3 separate regions of the Homo sapiens genome follow, and all the other regions are linked to region 1. The links are contacts of gene promoters, found by promoter capture Hi-C in blood cells and fetal thymus (Javierre and others, 2016). All regions are on one chromosome and are shown on one strand. The core of a region is centred on a gene start or on the middle of the fragment in contact, and the rest is flanking DNA. Distances in the headings are between cores, read along the strand shown.

The links. The method cuts DNA at HindIII sites, captures the fragments that hold promoters and counts their contacts. A CHiCAGO score of 5 or more calls a contact.
Region 2: a fragment that was not itself captured here is called in contact with the fragment with the promoter of MAP7D2 in region 1 in 1 of 17 cell types (naive B cells); the score reaches 6.1 in naive B cells.
Region 3: a contact is called between a fragment that was not itself captured here and the fragment with the promoter of MAP7D2 in region 1, in 4 of 17 cell types (naive B cells, total B cells, total CD8 T cells and 1 more). The highest score is 7.6, in naive B cells.

The regions. Positions count from the first base shown.
Region 1 is chrX:20,115,631-20,118,402 of GRCh38, reverse strand. MAP7D2 (MAP7 domain containing 2) reads left to right here and starts at 1,496. Exons shown (of 17, transcript NM_001168465.2): 1 at 1,496-1,653. The coding sequence starts at 1,524. The HindIII fragment of the contact is 4,441 bases long and covers 1-2,772 here.
Region 2 is chrX:19,647,060-19,649,846 of GRCh38, reverse strand. All of the region lies in intron 6 of SH3KBP1 (SH3 domain containing kinase binding protein 1), which reads left to right. Among named protein-coding and RNA genes, the nearest start is that of MAP3K15, 130 kb to the right of the region's middle. The HindIII fragment of the contact is 3,020 bases long and covers 1-2,787 here.
Region 3 is chrX:19,616,387-19,619,207 of GRCh38, reverse strand. The region is part of intron 8 of SH3KBP1 (SH3 domain containing kinase binding protein 1); the gene reads left to right. Among named protein-coding and RNA genes, the nearest start is that of MAP3K15, 100 kb to the right of the region's middle. The HindIII fragment of the contact is 5,174 bases long and covers 1-2,821 here.

The sequences.
Region 1 (2,772 bases), core at 247-2,746:
ATTTTCATCCAAAAAAGAAAACCTGTACCCATTATTCAGCTTCATTTTTAATCGTGTATATCTCCCCCCAGGAGTGGTAATAAAACTTTCAGGCTGGTCACCTTCCAACGAGAAAAAACATGCAGCCTGGGGCTCCATGGGAACGGGTTATCACTTGGCAGGCCTGGGTAAACAAAAGGCTTGAGCCGGCCCTGCCAAGATGTCTTTTTCAATGTTTTTGAAAAGATAATAAATGTGCATGGCAGTGGTAAAAGTGCCTACTTAGGAGGCAACCCGTTTAGCAGTTTCTTGTGTGTCTTCTCGGAGAGATCCTCCTCAGAGGTTTTTTGTTTTATTTTGCTTTTGAGACAAGGTCTCTGTCGCCCAGGCTGGAGTGCAGTGGCGTGATCACTGCAGTCTCGACCTCCCGGGCTCAAGCGATCTTCCCGCCTCAGCCTCCCAAGTAGCTGGGACCACAGATGAGTCGCCATGCCCAGCTAATTTTTAAAATTTTTTTGTAGAGACGGGGGTCTCGAACTCCTTAGCTCAATCAATCCGCCCGCGTCAGCCTCCCGAAGTGTTGGGATTACAGGCGGGAGCCACCACACCCGGCATCGCGGAGGTTTCAGTCAGCATTATTTACGCCTCAGGAGAAGAGGAACCAAATTGGCTGCGGAGTAGGGTGTCGTTGAAAGGCCTAGGTCGGCCTACGGCGCGTGCCGCTGCCTCTTAGTTGAAGATCGACCCCAATAGCTTGCTGCTGTCCCTCTCTGGGTGACCGCACGCTGAGGGTGGGGCGTCACTAAACACTGATTACCCGTGCGCCTCGAAAACTGGAACCTAACTATGCATGGAGGGCGGGTCCTCTGGCGTCTGCACAGATGTCACTGGCCCAACTGGCACCCACCTGGGGGCCTAGCCAGAAATTGTTCCCAAGGCTGCATTGCTGAGTTTGCATGCAGACACCCAGTGAGTGTAAGCGTGTGCGTGCTGAGTGAGCACGTGTGTGCGCGTTATGTGCTCTGTGTTCACACATTGAGTGAGGATGTGTGTGCACGGTGTCTGAGAAACTGCACCCTACATCTACACACGCTTTGAGTGTGTATCTGCTACTGTGAGAAGATGCATTTACGCTGGGTGTGCACGTTGTGTGTGCATGTTGCATGTAAGCATCGTATGAAGAACTGTGTGCGTACGCACGCCTTCTGTGTGTGCACTGTGTACAGCAGCGTGTAAGGACGCGTGCACGCCCGTACGCGCTGTGTGAGGACTGTTGTGCACATTGCATGCACACGCTACAAGCGCGCGCCGCGTGAGAACCGGTGCGCCTATCGCACGTGCACGCCCTGCGTGCGCTGTGCGTGGAAGCGGTGCGCCTATCGCACGTGCACGCCTTGCGTGCGCTGTGCGTGGTAACCGGTGCGCTTATCGCACGTGCACGCCCTGCGCGCGTGCTGCGTGAGGACGCGTGCGCATGCGGACGCGCGCGGGTTCGGTGCGGCGCGGCGGGCTTGGCAGTGCGCCTGTGCGGCCGGCGCATCCCGATGGAGCGCGGCGGCGGCGGCTCCGGGACGGGATCCCGGCCTGAGGGGACTGCGCGGGGAACCTCTCTCCCAGGGAAGATCGCAGAACCGGGCGCGGTGCGGACCTCTCAGCCCAACTACCGGCCTCAAGGTATTATCCCCAGAGTGTGGCGGGCGCCCGAGGGCTTCGGGTTCCTGTGGGGGGGCGGGCCCGGCGGCCCAGGGCAAAGGTCCTCGAGCGTGGGGGGAAGGGGCACGGCGCAGAGCTGAGATAAACGCCCTTTCCCTGGCCCAGGATCGTCCGGACGTGCATCCAAGGGCCGCACCCCTCTCTGTGCGAGTGGCGGGGTTCTTTCTTGGGGCGACCTGGGTGAGTGGGTACACATGGGGGGTGGCTTAGGGTGGGCGGCAGGTGTGTTTGGGATGGAGGTGCCTGAGGGGGTGCTGCGGGTCCAGTCCCCGTCCTCGAGGAGCAGCCGGCATGGGGGTCGTTAGGATAAACCGAGCGGGGTTCTGGGGTTGCCCCGGCCTCCGCGCGCGCTCTCTCTGCGTTCTGGGAAACGCGCGCGAGCGCCGCTGCAGCCCGCGGCGAAGGTGGCCCAGCTTCGCGCCTCTTGGCGTTTCCAGGGGGCAAAATCGGCGTGTCACCCATTGGCAGAGGCAGATTCGCCCGGGCGGCCAGGCGTCTGCCCCGGACCGGGTGCTCCTCCCGCCCGGATGCGCTCCCTGTCTTGGGAACGCTGCTCAGGTGGCCGGGCCGCGGCCCTCAATCGAGGCAGCGGGGCAAACAAGGCTCTCAGCCCTCGAGGCTGCCGATGCTGGGAGCCATGGAGGGCTGGTCCCTGGCTGCCCAGAAGCCAGCGAGGCAGCGGAGGAGACTGTGAGGACATTTGGCAGGATTTTAGATAAGCAGGTCTGATGCTAACGTTCTGTAAAGTGGTTGCAGGTAGTGCGGGGGTGTAAGCAGCATGGAAACCGATTTCATGCTGTTTTTCCTGACAACAACTTTTTTATTTTTAGTTAATAAGGCAGGCTATTTTTAAAACATTTTTTATTGCAGTCTAATATGCATTTAAAAAACCACACAAAACTATAATTCGATGAATTATCACATAGTGAAGATGGGAGTATTTTATATACGATGGGCCAAGAAAAGGAAAGAAATCAAGAGAAATCTTCTTAAAACACGCTTTTTCACTGGGGTTGAGGGGGCGAGGTAGTATTTTCTGACTGGGCCTTCAGTTGCATCATTCTTAGGAGGAGGAGATAG
Region 2 (2,787 bases), core at 129-2,628, 470 kb after region 1:
GGACTCCAATCCAGCGATTGCCTTTCCCGTAAGCATTAGTTTCTTCATTTTGGCAGAGAAAACAAATTAGTTGCTCCACTAACTGAAATCATATGGTGGTTATCTGTCTTGATGCTGTACCACTGGATCTTGTAGCGCTAGGAGTACATATGATACTCCCACTGTACACGAAAATCCTGAAACGTTTATTTAGTGCTTTTGGCAAGACAGCAAATTGGAGAGGTAGTTACATTATTAAATGTTCAAAGGAATGAACTTTCTGAATTATTGATTTTTAAAAGTCAGGTTTTAAATGGAGATAGGTATGTGGCAAGAAAGACAAAAGTTGACAGCAGCCTGGTAATTACCATGTGTAGAAGAAGATCCACAGTGATACAGATACAGCTCTATCCATCCAACCACATGCACATCCTTTCCCAGACCAAGCAGATCTGACTAATGTGGGTGTGTGTACTGGGAAGTCTTCAGCTGCCTCACAGAAGGAAGAGGAAATAATGGGCCAAGTTAGGGAGAAGAACCTGAGAGTCTGTTCTATAAAGTCATATGGCAAAATGGGTCTGTTTCCAGATCCCCCGGGAGGTGAATGGGCTGTGTCCTGAGCATGTCAACACAGCCCCTTAGTGCATGGCTGGTGTTTGTCGTGGATAAGCCACCTTCCTTAAGGCACTCAGGGGAGCAAGAACACTGTGGAGGAAGCCAAAGGGGAGATCCTGTATCCTCTTCCCCAGCCACTGCAAGCCTAACATCCCTCTTTGTTGCCTTCTAGTTGGAGGAGAGATGTATGGATGCGATTCCTGATTGTTCTGTCCACTTAGCCCTGCAGTGTAGCTGACCTTCAGTTATCCATGAGATATCTGTGTACTGGAGCTAGACATTGCGTTCATGAGGCATGCCCTTTGAAATTTGGGATTCTATTCATTTTAAGCCCAATTAGCCAAAGATGTTTTCAGAGGTAGAGGGAAGCTGGAAGGCTGACGGGAAAGCAATAATTCACCACCGTTTTTCTTTGCTCCTGTATGTAGGGAAGGGCGGGGGCTAGAGGTTCTCAACTAGGGATGTTTGGAAAGGTGTGTGGTGTTCAGGGTACATGCAATGACTGGGGGACACTATAGACTTTGAGTGGGTAGTGGCAAGGGTTGCTAAATGTCCTTTAATGTGTGAGCCAGTCTTCTACCTGAAGAAACACCTCACCTAAAATGCCAGTAAAGGGTAACACTGAGAAGGAGAAACAGGATTTGGGCCTCTATGAAGGCTCATACAGTCATGAGAGTCTGCCTGCTTAGCCTTCTGGGCAGTCTGTCCCCAGAGAGGCTAGATACAGCCTTCCAGTTTTGGTTCAAAGCCACCTTTCTTTCTTCCTTTCTTTCCTTCCTTCCCTCCCTCCTTCCCTCCCTCCTTCCCTCCTTCCTTCCTTCCCTCCTTCCTTCCTTCATCTTTCTAACTTTCTTCCTTCCCTCCTCCCTCTTGCCCTCCTTCCCTCCTTCCTTCCTTCCTTCCCTCCTTCTCTTTTCTTCTTCCCTTCCTTTCTTCTTCTCCTTCCTTCCCTCCTTCTCCTTCTTTCCTTCCCTCTTTCTCTTTCTTTCTGTCCTCCTCCTTCCTTCCACCTACCCATCCCTTCAGTGGCCAACTATCCTCCCCCATGTTTCCCTCAGCAATGTTGTCACATTGTCTGATCTACTGTACTCAAGTTCCTCTCTGAACTGAGTCATTTAGTAGCAATGACAAGTTCTTAGGCCAGTGAGAATAGAGAAGGCAGATGTGTTTGGTGGGAAAGGAGAGAGAGAAGAGAGGGAGAAGAGTTAAAAAGATGTTTCATAATTTATCTAGGTATGAGAATAGGCCCCTGAAGTTTTAATCCAAGAAAAGGCATTTGATTAATACTAATGGACTCCCTCCCACATCTAGGTCAGTGGTTCTCAAATGTGAGCATGCATCAGAATCCCACGGAGGGTGTGTTCCTAGAGACTGCTGGGAACCATCCCCAGAGTTTCTGATTGAGAAAGCCTGGGGTGGGGCCTGGGAATTTGCTTTACTAACAAGTTCTCAGGTGCTGCTGGTGCAGGGACCACACTTCTCTAGGTCTGGGTCCTAGAGACAAGAGAAACACTAGGCCAATTCCCATCTCCGGAGCACTGGCAGGAACAGGCTGAGATGGGGAGAAACTTTGCCATATTCTAGACTTTTAACTATGGCCCATGAAGGAGAAGGGAAGATTTAAGGCCAGCACTTCCCAGAAGATGAGGATAATACCAGCTTCACCATCACCCCTGTCGCTGGGATCCATGCAGAGGCCAGTGTGCTGTGTTTTCTGAAATAGGAAGGAAACAAACCACAGTGAGCCTTACTTTTTTGTGTCCTTCTGTACCAAAGTAAGTGCATTGAATTGGTGGCCTTGCTTGATGTCTGGTAGCTTGGAAGTTTTGGTAAGCCAGGATATCAAAGATGATGGGCAATACTTTCTTCTGTTACTAAAGAAGGGGAAGTTGTAAAAATGTGCAACCTGTTGAAGGTCTCTCTAAACCTGTTGGTTTAATGCCCAAACCGTTACATGTGTCCTTTTTTTTTTTTTTCAGGGAAGCAAACAAAGTCAGGAGTAGGGACAGTGTTTACTATTGCCTTTCCTGAATTCTTTGTTCAGTGATACCAGAAGCACTGGTTGTTTTTGTTTTCCTCTTCCTAATGTGTTAACAATGGTGATGCTTTATTCCAGCCCCACAAAGGGAAAAACAAATATGTTGGCAGGGATGCTGCTAGAAGTGTGAACAGGAATGTGAATGAAATGAACAC
Region 3 (2,821 bases), core at 312-2,811, 500 kb after region 1:
GCCTCCTGGGTTCAAGCAATTCTCCTGCCTCGGCCTCCCGAGTAGCTGGGATTACAGGTGCCCGCTACCACATCCAGATAATTTTTGTATTTTTAGTAGGGATGGGGTTTTGCCATGTTGGCCAGGCTGGTCTCAAACTCCTGACCTCAGGTGATCTGCCCTCCTCGGCCTCCCAAAGTGCTGGGATTACAGGCGTGAGTCACCGCTCCTGCCCGATTTTTTTTTTTTTTGTTCGTTTTTTAAGACAGGGTCTCACTCTTGTCACCCAGGCTGGAGTGTGGTGGTGTGATCGCAGCTCACTGCAGCCTTGACCTTCTGGGCTCAGGTGATCCTCCTACCTCAGCTTCCCAAGTAGGTGGGACTACAGGCATACCACCACATCTGGCTAATTTTTTGTAGAGATGGGGTTTTGCCATGTTGTCCAGGTTGGTCTCAAACTCCTAGACTCAAGTGATCCGCTCACCTCAGCCTCCCAAAGTGCTGGGATTACAGGCGTGAACCACTGCACCCGGCCAATTACTGACCCTTGAAGTGGACTTATGGGAGTAGAAATTCTTTCATTCCACAATTAGAAAAAAGGCTAAAGCATAAACATTTTTTAGAAGACTTTAGATTGCATATGTTGCAAAGGAAATTATGAAATCAATAAATAATTCTGGTATTTTTTTGTATACAAACTATATAGCCATGTTCCACAACTCTAGGAAGTACCAAATATGAATGGTCACCCTGGAGTTGGGCCAGCATGGCAGCATCTGTTGGGTGCTGTTCTCTGAAGAGGCTCCAGATAGAAACTGTTTTTTTTTTTTTTTTTTTTTTTTTGAGACAGAGTCTCGCAGTCTGTCACCCAGGCTGGAGTACAGTGGCAAAATCTCGGCTCACTGCAACCTCCACCTCCTGGGTTCAAGCGATTCTCCTACCTCAGCCTTCTGAGTAGCTGGGATTACATGTGTGTGCCACCACGCCCGGCTAATTTTTGTATTTTTAGTAGAGACGGGGATTCACCATGTTGGTCAGGCTGGTCATGAACTCCTGACCTTGTGATCCACCCACCTTGGCCTCCCAAAGTGCTTAGATTACAGACGTGAGCCACTGCGCCTAGCCCTAGAAACATCTTTTTCTAAGAGGAAAACAGGCTGAGCACACAGAGGCCTTTAGGGCTTCTGCCCTTGGTTGTCTTCTATGAAAATCCCCATGGGCCTTCCTGATTCCTGCCTTCGTGACACTGAACACCTGTGGAAGTCCTGTTCTCTTACTAGGGACTGAGATTTGGTTTAAGGTTTTTTTGTTTTTGTTTTTGTTTTTTCCCCTCATTTCTTAATGACATCTGAACTCAAAGGTTACTTCTGTAGCATTTCCTCACCTATGTGCTGTGAGGGTAGGGTGGTGATTTCTTCAGCTCTCCAGGGTGGATGGGAAGGGCCTTAGCTGGCCGGAATCACCCCTCTGGGCTGATGGCCTTCAACAACCTTTGGCCTCCAGCAGTATGTCATAAAAATAACTACTATTTTATGTGTGCGCCATTATCTGAAAAAAGCTAGGTGGCACTAACTTACTGCATGTATTTATCCTTCTGTATAAAGATGTTCAACAATGGCTCTACTTTAGGGAATACTTCACCTTCCTTGTTAGAGAAAGGAACATATGACTGGCAAAGGAAACTCCAGGATAATTAAAAACCCTTGTATGTGTCTTCATTTCACACATTCTTTCTCTAGGACTTCTTTTGGGAATTAGACCTTGAAATAGCTCAGACTTTTAAAGATAGAGCTGAAAGTTCTATTATATCTAGAATGAAAAAGTCCAGTCTAAATGAAGAAACAATCTTTTTGAGGGAATATATAACTTGGGGTTGCGGCTATTATAGAGTAAAGGGTAATTAGACTTGCCTTCCTGTCATAGACAACTCTAACATTGGCCAAAACATACAAAGTGGCTGTTTTTAGGCATTGGACAATACATATCACAAGAATGTGATCCTGGAGACAAGGGAAGCATAAAAGTGAGTTTTACATCAACCCTGGCTTTTTGCCTAGAGGCACTTTCTAAATTGCAGCACAGGGCAGTGGAGCCCAAACAAAGAGTAGCAGACTCATTTATTGGATAGAGGAAACAAGCTGTAATTCAGGACTGCTGGGGTGGCTCAAATTTTCAGGGCAGGGAACTGCAAAAGAATGAGCTACACAAGGAAAGAGTGTCAGAAATGTATAGATCTAGATGATTTGGCCAAATACTAAGCCAGGCATCAGTAGGGCAAGACTCTACGAGGCCTGGCAGAAAATAAGAACTTGGAGGGGCTGTGAGCTGAGTGGATATCCCAGAGATCACCAGTAATGGGAGATGTTAGAGTTCTAGCTAAGCAGAGTAGAAAAACACGAGGTGCTATCCTCGTGTTGAGAACTTCTGGCATCCAGTTGAGAACCCAGAAAAGCCAGCCACAGGAACAGCACTACCCTAGACCCATTGTAACAAAGCCTAAAAACCCAAGCCTTGACCAGTCAAGCTGACCTGCAAGTAACCTGCCTACCATAGCAGAACTCAACACTCTTTCAGGGAAGACAACAAAATCCAGTCTTTGAACAACAGCATGCACAGTTGCTCAGCAACTGTTGAGATAATATAATCGCAAATGACTAGATCTGTGAAGAAGCAGGAAAATGTGAGGTGGCTTGAAGAAGACATAGGGGTGTTTCTGAGTACAGTTTTCAGGCATTGATACCTGCTTCAGTTAATATTGGCATCCCCAAGAGGAAATGTGTTTACTGTTTTTTTGTGTGTTATCCACCCAGTTTCTTGTTGCTAGTTATATAGTATGTAAAAA